Linked DNA regions of Homo sapiens: region 2 is linked to region 1. The links are contacts of gene promoters, found by promoter capture Hi-C in blood cells and fetal thymus (Javierre and others, 2016). All regions are on one chromosome and are shown on one strand. The core of a region is centred on a gene start or on the middle of the fragment in contact, and the rest is flanking DNA. Distances in the headings are between cores, read along the strand shown.

Region 1 (7,557 bases), core at 1,465-3,964:
TTTTAAGTGACTTACGTGTATATCTAAATACATGATCAGTTAATATTTGTCTTAAAGGGGTTTTCTTTGTTCTTTTCTTATTATAGGAAGGTTAAACAATATGCTTATTTATGCCATAGCTTCACAAACAGGAAGGAGGTTTTAAATGGTTTAGTTCCACAATTTGAGTAGATGCATATTTAAAGAAACGTTGTTGCATAATAAATACTGCCTCTTCCTAAAATGCATCATGCCACAGCCAATTTTGGAAAACACAAATATGAGGTGAGTGTATTTTGAAAACTATGTGAATATAATAGATCTTTAATTCATATTTGTGGATTTTATGGGAAATACTTGTTTTCTAAGGCATCTGTCTTGCAAAAAGTCAGTTTCTGCTATGAAGGATGTTAAAGGGGATATGTAGGTTAAATTCTGTTTCTGAGCTTTGCTTCCAGAGTAAACACCCAACTTACTTTTGCCCTAAAGTATTTTATTGTTCTAGTAGAGAAGACTAACAACATATTCTAAACCACTAAGTAATTTATGTAAACTTCGCTTACAAACTACACTTGTGTGACACTTATATGAGCAAAAGCATTTTCATATTTCTTACTATATCATTCAATTCTTGCTTACCCCAATGGAAGTGACTTTATGCCCCTTTAGAGACAATGGAAATCAGGTACTTCGTGATTTCTCTTAAAAAAAAAAAAAATGAACTAGAAAGCTCCAAGTTTGGTGAATCTGGAACCTGGGTATTCCAGTTCCAGTTGTAGCCCTTCCTCCCTATCCATCACTCCTGTCTGCATGTAATTATGCAATACATTGAAAAGATTAAAAGATGGGTCTTGGACTCAGGCAGACCTGGGTCAAATCCAGATTCTGGCACTGCCCAGCCATTGCCCCTGGGCAAGCCATTTTCCTCTTTGAACCTCATTTGTGAATTAAGCTAAAAATAGTCCCCACCCCCATGGGACTGTGGGAAGGATTAAATAGAATAATGCATGAAAAGCAAATAGCAGAATGGTCCATAAATGTTAACCATTGTTATGTTATTATGTAATCTACAAAGTACGTTTAGTTACACTTCATGAAATACTTTCAGTTTTTCAAAGACACCACTAATACATGGGAAATCAAACCCTGAAAATTAATTTCACTTTAGCAGTAAAGTCACATGCCAGATGGAAAGGATAGTATTTCATGAACAAAGATCTTACTTTTGAGATTTGGTCTTACTTTTTTCTTTTTCTTAAGGGAGAATTATCTTGTGTTTTTTGTTTTGTTTTGTTTTGAGATGGAGTCTTGTTCTGTCACCCAGGCTGGAGCGCAGTGACGTGATCTCGGCTCACTGCAACCTTCACCTCCCGGGTTCAAGAGATTCTCCTGTCTCAGCCTCCCGAGTAGCTGGGACTACAGGTACGTGCCACCACACCTGGCTAATTTTTGTATTTTTAGTAGAGACAAGAGTTACACCATATTGGCCAGGATCTTTTGCTTTCTATAGCTTCAAAATGTTCTTAATGTTAAGACATTCTTAATACTCTGAACCATATGAATTTGCCATTTTGGTAAGTCACAGACGCCAGATGGTGGCAATTTCACATGGCACAACCCGAAAGATTAACAAACTATCCAGCAGATGAAAGGATTTTTTTTAGTTTCATTGGGTTTACTGAAGAAATTGTTTGAATTCTCATTGCATCTCCAGTTCAACAGATAATGAGTGAGTGATGCCACACTCTCAAGAGTTAAAAACAAAACAACAAAAAAATTAAAACAAAAGCACACAACTTTCTCTCTCTGTCCCAAAATACATACTTGCATACCCCCGCTCCAGATAAAATCCAAAGGGTAAAACTGTCTTCATGCCTGCAAATTCCTAAGGAGGGCACCTAAAGTACTTGACAGCGAGTGTGCTGAGGAAATCAGCAGCTGTTGAAGTCACCTCCTGTGCTCTTGCCAAATGTTTGAAAGGGAATACACTGGGTTACCGGGTGTATGTTGGGAGGGGAGCATTATCAGTGCTCGGGTGAGGCAAGTTCGGAGTACCCAGATGGAGACATCCGTGTCTGTGTCGCTCTGGATGCCTCCAAGCCAGCGTGTGTTTACTTTCTGTGTGTGTCACCATGTCTTTGTGCTTCTGGGTGCTTCTGTGTTTGTTTCTGGCCGCGTTTCTGTGTTGGACAGGGGTGACTTTGTGCCGGATGGCTTCTGTGTGAGAGCGCGCGCGAGTGTGCATGTCGGTGAGCTGGGAGGGTGTGTCTCAGTGTCTATGGCTGTGGTTCGGTATAAGTCTGAGCATGTCTGCCAGGGTGTATTTGTGCCTGTATGTGCGTGCCTCGGTGGGCACTCTCGTTTCCTTCCGAATGTGGGGCAGTGCCGGTGTGCTGCCCTCTGCCTTGAGACCTCAAGCCGCGCAGGCGCCCAGGGCAGGCAGGTAGCGGCCACAGAAGAGCCAAAAGCTCCCGGGTTGGCTGGTAAGGACACCACCTCCAGCTTTAGCCCTCTGGGGCCAGCCAGGGTAGCCGGGAAGCAGTGGTGGCCCGCCCTCCAGGGAGCAGTTGGGCCCCGCCCGGGCCAGCCCCAGGAGAAGGAGGGCGAGGGGAGGGGAGGGAAAGGGGAGGAGTGCCTCGCCCCTTCGCGGCTGCCGGCGTGCCATTGGCCGAAAGTTCCCGTACGTCACGGCGAGGGCAGTTCCCCTAAAGTCCTGTGCACATAACGGGCAGAACGCACTGCGAAGCGGCTTCTTCAGAGCACGGGCTGGAACTGGCAGGCACCGCGAGCCCCTAGCACCCGACAAGCTGAGTGTGCAGGACGAGTCCCCACCACACCCACACCACAGCCGCTGAATGAGGCTTCCAGGCGTCCGCTCGCGGCCCGCAGAGCCCCGCCGTGGGTCCGCCCGCTGAGGCGCCCCCAGCCAGTGCGCTCACCTGCCAGACTGCGCGCCATGGGGCAACCCGGGAACGGCAGCGCCTTCTTGCTGGCACCCAATGGAAGCCATGCGCCGGACCACGACGTCACGCAGGAAAGGGACGAGGTGTGGGTGGTGGGCATGGGCATCGTCATGTCTCTCATCGTCCTGGCCATCGTGTTTGGCAATGTGCTGGTCATCACAGCCATTGCCAAGTTCGAGCGTCTGCAGACGGTCACCAACTACTTCATCACTTCACTGGCCTGTGCTGATCTGGTCATGGGCCTGGCAGTGGTGCCCTTTGGGGCCGCCCATATTCTTATGAAAATGTGGACTTTTGGCAACTTCTGGTGCGAGTTTTGGACTTCCATTGATGTGCTGTGCGTCACGGCCAGCATTGAGACCCTGTGCGTGATCGCAGTGGATCGCTACTTTGCCATTACTTCACCTTTCAAGTACCAGAGCCTGCTGACCAAGAATAAGGCCCGGGTGATCATTCTGATGGTGTGGATTGTGTCAGGCCTTACCTCCTTCTTGCCCATTCAGATGCACTGGTACCGGGCCACCCACCAGGAAGCCATCAACTGCTATGCCAATGAGACCTGCTGTGACTTCTTCACGAACCAAGCCTATGCCATTGCCTCTTCCATCGTGTCCTTCTACGTTCCCCTGGTGATCATGGTCTTCGTCTACTCCAGGGTCTTTCAGGAGGCCAAAAGGCAGCTCCAGAAGATTGACAAATCTGAGGGCCGCTTCCATGTCCAGAACCTTAGCCAGGTGGAGCAGGATGGGCGGACGGGGCATGGACTCCGCAGATCTTCCAAGTTCTGCTTGAAGGAGCACAAAGCCCTCAAGACGTTAGGCATCATCATGGGCACTTTCACCCTCTGCTGGCTGCCCTTCTTCATCGTTAACATTGTGCATGTGATCCAGGATAACCTCATCCGTAAGGAAGTTTACATCCTCCTAAATTGGATAGGCTATGTCAATTCTGGTTTCAATCCCCTTATCTACTGCCGGAGCCCAGATTTCAGGATTGCCTTCCAGGAGCTTCTGTGCCTGCGCAGGTCTTCTTTGAAGGCCTATGGGAATGGCTACTCCAGCAACGGCAACACAGGGGAGCAGAGTGGATATCACGTGGAACAGGAGAAAGAAAATAAACTGCTGTGTGAAGACCTCCCAGGCACGGAAGACTTTGTGGGCCATCAAGGTACTGTGCCTAGCGATAACATTGATTCACAAGGGAGGAATTGTAGTACAAATGACTCACTGCTGTAAAGCAGTTTTTCTACTTTTAAAGACCCCCCCCCCCAACAGAACACTAAACAGACTATTTAACTTGAGGGTAATAAACTTAGAATAAAATTGTAAAATTGTATAGAGATATGCAGAAGGAAGGGCATCCTTCTGCCTTTTTTATTTTTTTAAGCTGTAAAAAGAGAGAAAACTTATTTGAGTGATTATTTGTTATTTGTACAGTTCAGTTCCTCTTTGCATGGAATTTGTAAGTTTATGTCTAAAGAGCTTTAGTCCTAGAGGACCTGAGTCTGCTATATTTTCATGACTTTTCCATGTATCTACCTCACTATTCAAGTATTAGGGGTAATATATTGCTGCTGGTAATTTGTATCTGAAGGAGATTTTCCTTCCTACACCCTTGGACTTGAGGATTTTGAGTATCTCGGACCTTTCAGCTGTGAACATGGACTCTTCCCCCACTCCTCTTATTTGCTCACACGGGGTATTTTAGGCAGGGATTTGAGGAGCAGCTTCAGTTGTTTTCCCGAGCAAAGTCTAAAGTTTACAGTAAATAAATTGTTTGACCATGCCTTCATTGCACCTGTTTCTCCAAAACCCCTTGACTGGAGTGCTGTTGCCTCCCCCACTGGAAACCGCAGGTAACTACTTGTAATTACTGCCCATGACTTAATGTAGAATGATACAAGAATGACATGCACAGATTGCTTAACCCTTTCATTTGCCTTTGAGTCTGCTGCTGCAAAGCTGCATCTCTCCTGACACTTGTGCCCCAAATCAGTTCTGCCTGCTCTTAGTATAGCTCAACTCTCCCTATGGTTATTGTTCTGTGTTGTTACCTCAGAAACACTGACTCACAGAAGCGGAGTTAAGGGGATATGTTTTTTTCTCTCCACGTGCACCCACCACCCACCTTCCAGTTCTACTTGTTTCAAAACTGTTTATATTTCTGTCTTGGCCATGTGTTACAGTGGAGCTCTTTGTACTGCATCAGGGCTTGGCATTTTAGGGATAAGGAAGATGTTCTTATGAGGAAGCTACTCAGACATGGCCCCGTAATTCTGAGGGAAAATTCAAAAGGCATTGGTCATGGGGAGAAAAGCTGGAGAACACATAACTGATGGATACCTCATGAACTAGAAACAGAATTTTAACCCCTTTTCCTTCTTTCCTTTGGTCCCTGTTTTCTTCTCCCACTGACTCTCCTCGATTCAGTGTAAACCAAGGTTCTGAGTCTTAGCACTGTTAGCATTTTGGACCAGATAACTCTTTGTTATGGGGGCTGCATCATTGTATGTGTAGCACCTCTGGCCTCTGTTCATTAGATGCCAATAGCACCCCCTGCTTATAACAAGCAAAAATGTTTCCAGACATTGCAAAAGAGCCCCTGAGGTGCGAATTAGCCCCTGGTTGAGAGTCACTGGTAGAAACTGTAAAAATCTCAGCAGATACATACATTCTTTCTAATGCAAGCGCTTGATTGTGCAGAGCCTTAGAGAGGGATTTTCACAGTTCACCTAGGCAGTAACAGACCCTCACCAGCACTCTTTCCATTCCATCATGCTGCCTTCTAAACTTGTTTTCTAGCTGCCCAAATAGTGATCATGAAATGTTAAGAAGGCTTTAAGTCTGTACATGAATTGTTTGAGAGGGTTTATCAATGGAGGTGAGGCCTGTGGGCCATGACTCCTGTTTGTGAAGAGATTATAATACTGTCAAGAGGCACGTTAGGGGAAATCACAAAAGTAAACACATTTCTTCTCCCAGCCCCTTTCTATTTTTGCCTGTGTGTCTGAGCCAGAGCTTGGCCCAGGTTTGATGAAGTGGATCGTCCTCCTTGGCAACGCCAGGCTAGAGCAGATCAGCCTGCAGGGTTCATTGCCATTCCACTGGCTCATGAAGCTGACTCCACTCCCCTCTTCCTTTCTGTTGCAGCCAAGGTCCCCAACCAGAAAAGCATTGGCCTTCTCTGCTTCCTGTCAACTCAATGATGGGATGTTTGGGTGAGCACCGAGCTATCAGGAGAAGGTTAGGCGCCTGTGATTTTGGAACATGCCATGGCAAATTGGAGAATGTGTGTCATTCAGTGCTTTTACTTTTTTCCAAGGGTTTTCATACCTATTGAAAACCCTTATTACACATTATCACCTTCTCTTTCTACTGCTATTATCACATTCTCTTTCTACTGCTCTGGTCTCCACACTCAGAGATTTGGGCAGCTTCTTTGGCTAATATTCATGCTCCCTGTAGCCTCATAAGATCTCAGACATGGAAGAGCCCATAGAAAGTATTTAACATCTGATGAGACTGAAACGCTGTGAGGTGAAGGGCTTGCCCAAGGTAAGCAGCCAAGGATGTCAGAGTGGGACTCAAGCCAGGGAACCCAACTGCTATTCCAGGAACTGCTGCATTCTCTCCACCACATTAGCATTGCGTTCTTTCCTCACCCTCAACTGGGGCTATAACATAACACATTCATTTCAGCCAATATATTTTTCTTTTGTCCTTAACACAAAATTTAGAGCATAAACAAATAATCTGCAATAGAGACAAAAGAAATAATTGTTCATTTAACTCAACAAGCATCCACTAGGATATCTTCTGCATTTAGGGAAGCTGGGAGATTCCTTAGCTCTTTATAACCAGATGTCGGTGTTGTATATATACTCTTTTGCCTAAAGGAATGTCTAATGTAATTTCTGTTAAAATTCAGGTATTAATGTTAATTCAGATTCCCAGCTAAAAGGAGAGTTTAACCATATTCACGTTCCTTTAGGAATACTGTAGACACAAGAACCTTGATTAGTTTTAAGGGTCCTGATAAGCAAGAGCATTCTAGGCATATCTTAATCCTTTGCTTTCTACCTCTTTGGTGTGTTGCTTTGTTTCTTTTGAGGGGTTGGCTTTTGTCAGTGTCCCTTCGTCTCTCTGTTTGCTGACATGCTGGCCACCTAAGGTTTGTGTTGTATTCCTCATCGTGAGTTTTTTTTTTGCCTGGACAGCAAGTTCTCAGAGTCTGTCAAATAAGAAGAACTTTTTTCTAAGATGCAAGCTGAGAGGTGTGAACAGTGGCAGGACAGGGTGAGCCTCCCCACTGCAATAATTAATGGGATAAGGAATCTGGAGAAAGGGGAGCTTGAGAATAGGAACTGTCTTTACATGATTCTTAGAATGTTTCTTATGGTGAACCTATTGCCAAATGGAGCCTAAACCAGAATCAGTCAGAAAGTATTTATGGAGCACCTACTGTATGCAGCATGAGAAAAGTATAGGTTTCCATTTCTGCCTTTTGGATCATGATATTAAGGATACTAAGCAGATACCTTTTATGGAATCTTACTAAAAGTTAGTGACTATGTTAGACACCTGTTAGGCGTTATGTCCTCACAACTGTATGATGT
Region 2 (7,557 bases), core at 1,647-4,146, 220 kb after region 1:
ATTAGCCTTATTACCACTGGTGGAATAGAAAGCTGCTAATGACTTAGAAGGATCTAAAAGACTCCCTTTCAGACTATGGTACTCAATCTGATAAATTGCCTACCTAGGATCTAGCAATGACCTTTTGATGAATGTTTTTCTGTCCAGTTTACAAAGTACAATTTGCACTCACTTTCTCAGGTCTTCTCAAGAGCTTCAAAGGGCACGGAAACTATCAGAATCCCCTTTTCCCAGGTTACGGAGGGAGAGAGAGGGTATGAGATTTGTCTAAGGATCTTATGCATGGCAAAACTGAGTCTAGAGCTTAAGTCTTCAGGCTGCTGGTTAGCCTCTCCATTAATCCTGGTGGAGATAAAGGCTTTTATGTGCCTCAGTTTCCATATTTGCTTTAGCTTCTCTGCTAAAGCTACTAGCCTATTTTTTCTGACATTTTTGGTCAAGTTTCTAGATTGTGTTTTCAAGATCAGAAATTCTCACTATTTTGTGGGTCGATGGGATCTACCATGTGTTAAATATCTACATTGTAAGAGAAACTGTGCAAAGTGATTTATGGATGTCATTTTGTTTGGTTCTCATAACAACATTTAAGTTGGTTTTATTGTATCATTTTACTAATGAGGAAGTTGCAACATAGGGCAGGTGGATTGGCCAAGATCACACTGGTTTTAAGTCAAGGAGCCAGAATTTGAACCAGAATAGACTTCAAAGCCTTGCGTTCTAACTACAAGGCTGTACTGCTTTAGGAAGCTAAAAATCTTGTTTGTCATCAGTAATTTATTAGATCTGATGTCTGGGTTCCATAATCCTATTTCTTTTTTTGTGTTATTTGGGCTCAGCACTTATAAAATTGTACTTTGTGGTAGGAGTGTGTGGGAGGGAGGTGAAGGGGAGTTCTAAAGATGAAGATGAACAGAAGGTATTTCTAGATGTCTAAAAAGTGTTGGACTTCATTATCCAGTAGATATGGATCTACAGTACTTACAGATATGTGTGTATACACACATACAGATTACTTAAATTGTGTGTGTGTGTGTATATAATTCATTTATTCAACAAATTTTTACTGAGTACCCTTATGTGCCAGGCATTTCTACTCTTCCTAAATTCAAAGTTAATTTTACAAAACTCTAAGGGAAATTAGAAAATGTTTTGACCAGAGATTGAAACAGGCAGCCCACAGGCCGCATTTGGCTCACGAAACATTTAATTTGGCCCTGTTTTTTCACTCATATATCTTAAAATCCCTAATTATTCCTGCCATTCCCTAATACCTTCCATCCAGGCCCCCTAGCATCTGTGTGTCCTGCCCACACCTGCAGGCATTTGTAGCTGCCCCCTGGATTGAGACCTCTCATTTCACAGGCAGGGAAAACCATGTGCACAGACAGAAACTGGCTTCCCTAAATCCAGTTCCTAGCAGAGACGAGACAAAAATTCACATCAACTGACTCCAAACCTGCAGATAAAATTGAGAGGCAGGACAACATTATCTCCCTAACAATACTATGTTTTTGACTCAGCCATACCAATCTGATAGGAGCCTGTCCAATCCCTCTTCCTGGAAAGGCCACAGCTTCCTGGATAATTCTTTAGGAACCACCTGCCAATGAAAACATGGGGTTTGCAAACACAGATTTCAAAAAATTGCAACAATGAACAGAACAGTCTATCAGAATAATGATGATGATGATGAGTATTGTTTTTTCTCTTATTTAAATGATGGCAAAAGTTTATTGAGAACTTACTTTCTACCAGGACCTGTGAAAAGGTGAGAAGTTAGTAGACCTGGGATATTTTGTGGCTCCGAAAGTAGTTTGTCAGTTAAATAACTAACAAACAATCCCTTTACACTTGAACTGTCAGATCTCTGCCAGAGCCACACAGGTCCATGGTGTGGGGTAATGTTTACTGTCAATCTGTATATTTAAGTTTAATCATATCTTCCAGCAGGATTTCTTAAACTTTAGTGTGAAAAGCATCTCCTAGGAAGTTTATTTAAAATGAAGATTCCTAGACTCAACCCCAAGAAAGTCTAAGGAGGCCCAGACAAGTGGTCCCCAGTCCATACATGGAGAAACACTACATTGGCGGTCGTGTGGTATATTTGCTGCTAGGTACAATGCCCATCTGAAATTTAGAGTTGTCTCCAATTTCATCAGATTGTTAAAATTCTTGGTTGTTAAAAAAGAAAAGAAAAAGACAGAAAGATAAAGACCCACCCAGAATCTGTTCTCTCCTCCACACTATGGATGCCCATATCTGAAAGCATGCCTACTCTGTTCTGTGCAAACCTCAGTCTGCTCTGGGACTTGCTCCCAGGAGGCAGATGGCTACTCACTGGTGGAAAGGGAGAGGCAGAGGCTCCAAGGCTGACACCAGTACCAGGCCCCGCTGACCTGTCACCAAAGACACGCCTTCCAACTCGGAGCCAGCTTCTGCCATCTTCACTGAGATTAACTCATTCTTGCAAAGTGTCAAGCATTCCCCTTCCTTCTCGGCTGGTGGAGTCACGGAGCACAGGGCTCTGCAGAAGAAGTGGCCTGTGGATAATGAGAAAAGCAATGGCTTTCTAAGGAGTAGCAGGAAGTGAAAACGGATTATCACACAAAGTAATGCTTCTATTCAGAGCTGGAGTACTTTTCTTCCTGGAAGTAAAGTAGACGTTTCACAGGGGAGACACTAAAAGAGGCCTTATGATCCCAGGAACACTGATACCAGGAAGAAAAAAGCCATTGAGAGGGAATTCAGTTAAAACAGACACCAACATTTCTAATAATCTATGAGAAAAAGGCTTAATTGGGACTTTATCTTGAAAAAGAGATGAAAACTTGTGAAAATATATTTATATTTAATAGAATTTCATTTATTGTTGCAACCTCATGATTAAAATTAGAACCAAAAAAGAATTGATTAAATTAGTTTGGGTGAATATAATTACTCCAATAAGTTTTATAATAGCATGATATTAAATTCTTTCCTTCATGCAATATTTCTGCAATGCAATCATAAGAGTCCTTTTTGCAAAAATATCATATGCAAATCTGGCTCTTTCCACGTGTCTGTGATGTCATCAGGCTTATCCACCTCATAGTTGTTAATTGGTAGATGATAACCTTGATGGGACTCTCACCTATAAACAGATCAAGAGGTGCTCCAAGAGGTTCCTCAACATCACTTTCCTCACTTTCATAAAAAACTTCAAGTTTTGCAACATTTGCAACTTTATTTTACAATCAAATTTTATCACGTTTGGAAAAGGGTTTCTCGATTTTGGGTAGACATTAGACTTATGTGGAAAACTTTCCAAAATATGCCAATACTTGGGCCTTCACCTTCAGAGATTTAATGGGCCTAAGTGGAGCCCTGGCTTGGGTATCTTAGTAAAACTCTCCAAGCAGTTCTAACATCAATCAGTGAGACTGACCAGCACAGCTGTTCGTGTAATGTCAGTGTTGAACTCAGAGGAATGTTCAAAGTACTATTATAACAGGTGGGTTCATTTGTGAATATTCCATGTTTGAATGATTTTTCCCTCCCTTTGCATCCTGCTTATTTCATGGCCTCTGGTAGCAAATATCTGAATAAGATCCCATCTCTACCCCTATGCCACACTCACCTTCCTGTATCAGGAGTCCCAGGTATATTGTTTCCAGGTGTTTATCATCTACAGACACTTGGATCTCTGTATCCTCCACCAATATGCAGTTGAGCCAGTACTTGTGGTCAAAGAGGAGATGTTCTAGACACATGGATACGTAGCCTAAGAAGTCAAGCCAACAAGATTTCTGAACAAAATGATTTCTGACATAGCTGAGCACAGAAGAGAGTGAGAAAATTCCCTCCTGAGCTTGATTCCCAGACCACAAGCCCCAACCTGCCATTTAACTGGAATTAAAACAACATAAGAGGCAAAGCCAGACATTTTCTAGAATGAGTTGAGTCTTCTCAACATCTATTGGGAAATACAAGTCATTTCTAAATGTTATTTACCATTTCAACATATTGTGAGTTTCCATAAATGCATAATGAGATGACCAAAACCAACTGCCTTTTTCTAATACAGCCACGGAGGTCTCCAAGTTTACAGTGTTGACTATGGGGGTTCCTAGTGCCCCCTTAAAGTTCTCCTGACCTGAGGTTCAAACTACTGTGTCCCTGATGATGCAGTGGCTGAGGAGGTTCTACATGGCTCCCCCTCAGTGAATTTCAGGAGTCAGGATTTCCTTCCACCCACCAGCTCTGACCCTGCCCCTCCTCCAATGCCCAGAAGATCTCTCTGGTAAAAGCAGACTAAAAACTATGTAAATTGTAAAACTCTAATAATTATATATAGTATTTTAAACATGGCTATAAACATGAACTACTCGTATTGCTTCTCTTGAGGCTTCTTCTGTTTCCTAAGATGCAAAAGCCTGTCTGTTTCTATCCTGACTGTCCATTGTGCTGATCTAGGCCTTATGTATCTTCTATAATTGCACTTTTGAATTTTAATGTGCACACAAATCACATGGGGATCTTATTAAACTACAAATGCTTAGTAAAGGTCTGAGATAGGGTTGAGCTTCTCCTTTTTTTTTTTTTTTTTAACAGACTCTATGTGCTGCCAACGAGCCGGTCTATGGAGCACAGTTTGAATAGTGAGGATGTCTGATGGTCAGGAAGGAGATGTGTAGTGTGGAGATCAGATCTCCAGACCATAAGAGGAGAAGATACACCTTATGTTTTCCAGTCATGAGTCATCTTGACCCTCCACCCCTGCACAAAATCTGTCCTTGTGTATGTCGGCATGGAGCCCAGCATTTTCTGGGAGATATAAAACATCCATCAAATTAGGTGGCCTGTTGTTTTGTTTGGCTTCACTTTAACTTCCCCATTATAAGTTGTTCTGTCTGGAGAAGGCAGGTGAACCATTTCCCACCACAGTGGAACTGACGCTGCATCCCAATGTCCTTCTTTACCTTCTAGAAAACGCTGCAGCCTTAGGTTGCTATAAGCAGATAATTTCTCTATTTCTTTCTTTAACTCTTTTCCAAATACATGCAATAAAACATCTGGAACTTTGCTATTGACTATGTTGAGCAGCTACTTCGATCTTACTCAAGATTAGTTCCCTATAGTTTAAAACACACACACTAGCACCAAGTTCACATCTATTTCAGTACTTTGAACTTAGTAGATGACCAATAACTGTTTTCCAATTGATTGGTTATCTAATAAAAAAAGATCTCCCTGGACACAAAAAAGCAAACTTCTTCATACGGCATTTTAGAATAATAGTTAATATTTGCCTTAGATTTAGTTTGAGGCACTTTGTGAAATTTCAAAAGTTAACCATCTTTTTTAAGGCTCTATTTCTCTTAATTACCAGAGCCAGGCCAATTCCTTCATGTCAAGCCCTACAAATTGGCTAAATTGTGGAGGAGGTCATCCTCCACCTGCTTGCCTTGTACCATACCTAAATTAAGGTAGGTGGAGAACTTCCAGATTTCCTCCATGGTCTTGAAGGTGATGAGAAACTGGGCCCTCTGAGACTGGATACTGACCAACCTTGCTGAGAGGTCCTACGTAAAGGAAACAATGAGTCAGCCTGGGATGACAGAAGTGTCCCATTAGCAAGCTCTTATATAGACCAAATACTCTGTATGAACTTCTTGATTATGGCATTGATTTTTACGTCACCAAAAAATGGAAACAACTTAAATATTCATCAATAAGAGATTGGTTAAAATGGAGTACAATTTATCCATAAAGTGAAATATTGTATTATGCAGCCACAGAAAAGAAGAAAGAAGCTCTTTGTGTACTGATATAGGCTCCAGATATAATACTGCTATACAGCGGCAGCAGCAAAAGAAGCCAGGGAATAGAACTATGGGCAAAGAATGCTACTTTTTGTGTTTAAAAAAAAAAGTGTATGTGGGAGGATAAAGGACGCTGATTCATAGAAGGCATCTTGAAAGCAAATTTGATTATGAGTCTATGTCTAATGATTATTTTTATTAATACAAAGCTGAAAACAGAAAAACCAAAACACACAAAAATAATCATCCCTAGTCCCTACTCCTAAAGATCATCAGTGTTAACATCTTCATGTAATAAATTTGCATCTTTTTTCCTACACAAGTTTCCATATAACTATTTCACATATATAGAATCACATTGCATAAATTATTTTGCAATCTTCTTTTGCTGCTAAGCAATATTTTGCAAAGCATCTTCTATGTCATCACAAAGTTTACACCATTCTTAATGGTTACATGTGCCATTGTTGCATTAACATAATGAATTATTATCATTTTCTTATGGTTTCATGTTTGGATTGTTTTACATTTTTTAAAATCCTAAATGGTACTGTGATAAACATCTTTATAGCTAAATCTTTGTGCACATTCTTAATTGTTTTAACACATGTATTTCTAAGAGGTGCAATTGGAAATGCAAGGATATGCACATTTTCAATCCTAAAATGCAGTCACCCAACTGTCCCCCAGGAAGGCTTTCCAATTTACATGCTCACAAGGAGAGTGACAGGAAGACTATAAGCCTCTTGGGGGTTTTTTTGTTTTCTTTTGTTTTGTTTTTTTAGACGGAGTCTCGCTCTGTCGCCAGGCTGGAGTGCAGTGCAGTGGCGCAATCTCGGCTCACTGCAACCTCCGCCTCCCAGGTTCAAGCGATTCCCCTGCCTCAGCCTCTCGAGTAGCTGGGACTACAGGCACCTGCCACCACGCTTGGCTAATTTTTTGTATTTTAGTAGAGATGGGGTTTCACCATGTTGGCCAGGATGGTCTCGATCTCTTGACCTCATGATCCACCCACCTTGGCCTCCCAAAGTGCTGGGATTACAGGCGTGAGCCACCGCACCCGGCCTGGTTTTTTTATAATACCTAAAAAAAAAGCAGGTCTGAATCACTGCCCAGACTTAGTTTTCCCTTAAATCTGTTGTTTGTCCAAGCCTCCGGAGTTGACTGTAACAAGTGACGGTCAGAACATCCCTCCACCAGGCCAGGTCCTGTCATCAGTACCAACTCCAGGAGCTCTATCATGAGGGAAACTTAGAGGAAGAAGAAGATAGAAGAATCCAGAAGAAAAGCCCCAGTTCAGTAAAATCAGAACTCTGGGGTTCCTTCTGCCATACCAAACCCCAGGAGGCCCCAGATCCATCATTAGGGAAGGGGTGCTAGGTAAAAATCAACTTACAGAGAATTTACTACATCCCTGGCACTTCACCCAGAGCTTTATGAGCAATATGTCATTTAACTCCCACAAAAGCGCTATGAAGAGAATGCAATGACAGTATTTGGGCCATTCCAAAATGTGCTTTTATCACATTTAACCACTTCTGAACTAAAAGATAAGGAAGTATGTCATCAACCATAATTGGCAGCATTTGTTTTCTTTCTTGGAAGTACATAAAATAACAGTGCATTTTATAATCAATGGCATCTTAGATCTAATGAAAAATGGCATTATCCCTGTTGCATATTCAAGGGGGCCAAGGCACAGAGAGGTTAAGTAAATTGTCCAAGGTCACCTTCAGGGAGTAAGCTGCGGAGCCTT

What was found. Contacts are between HindIII fragments. The CHiCAGO score rates a contact against its expected background, and 5 or more counts as called.
Region 2: a fragment that was not itself captured here is called in contact with the fragment with the promoter of ADRB2 in region 1 in 4 of 17 cell types (megakaryocytes, neutrophils, monocytes and 1 more); the score reaches 6.8 in megakaryocytes.

Annotation. Positions count from the first base shown.
Region 1 is chr5:148,823,897-148,831,453 of GRCh38, forward strand. It overlaps ADRB2 (adrenoceptor beta 2), which reads left to right and starts at 2,715. Exons shown (of 1, transcript NM_000024.6): 1 at 2,715-4,727. The coding sequence starts at 2,936. The coding sequence ends at 4,177. RefSeq lists enhancers at 2,014-2,173, 3,030-3,615 and silencers at 2,444-2,753, 2,844-2,983. The HindIII fragment of the contact is 9,818 bases long and covers 1-7,557 here.
Region 2 is chr5:149,039,078-149,046,634 of GRCh38, forward strand. It overlaps SH3TC2 (SH3 domain and tetratricopeptide repeats 2), which reads right to left. Exons shown (of 17, transcript NM_024577.4): 4 at 5,456-5,561; 5 at 3,617-3,760; 6 at 2,339-2,540; 7 at 1,527-1,600. Among named protein-coding and RNA genes, the nearest start is that of MIR584, 20 kb to the right of the region's middle. The HindIII fragment of the contact is 9,447 bases long and covers 1-7,557 here.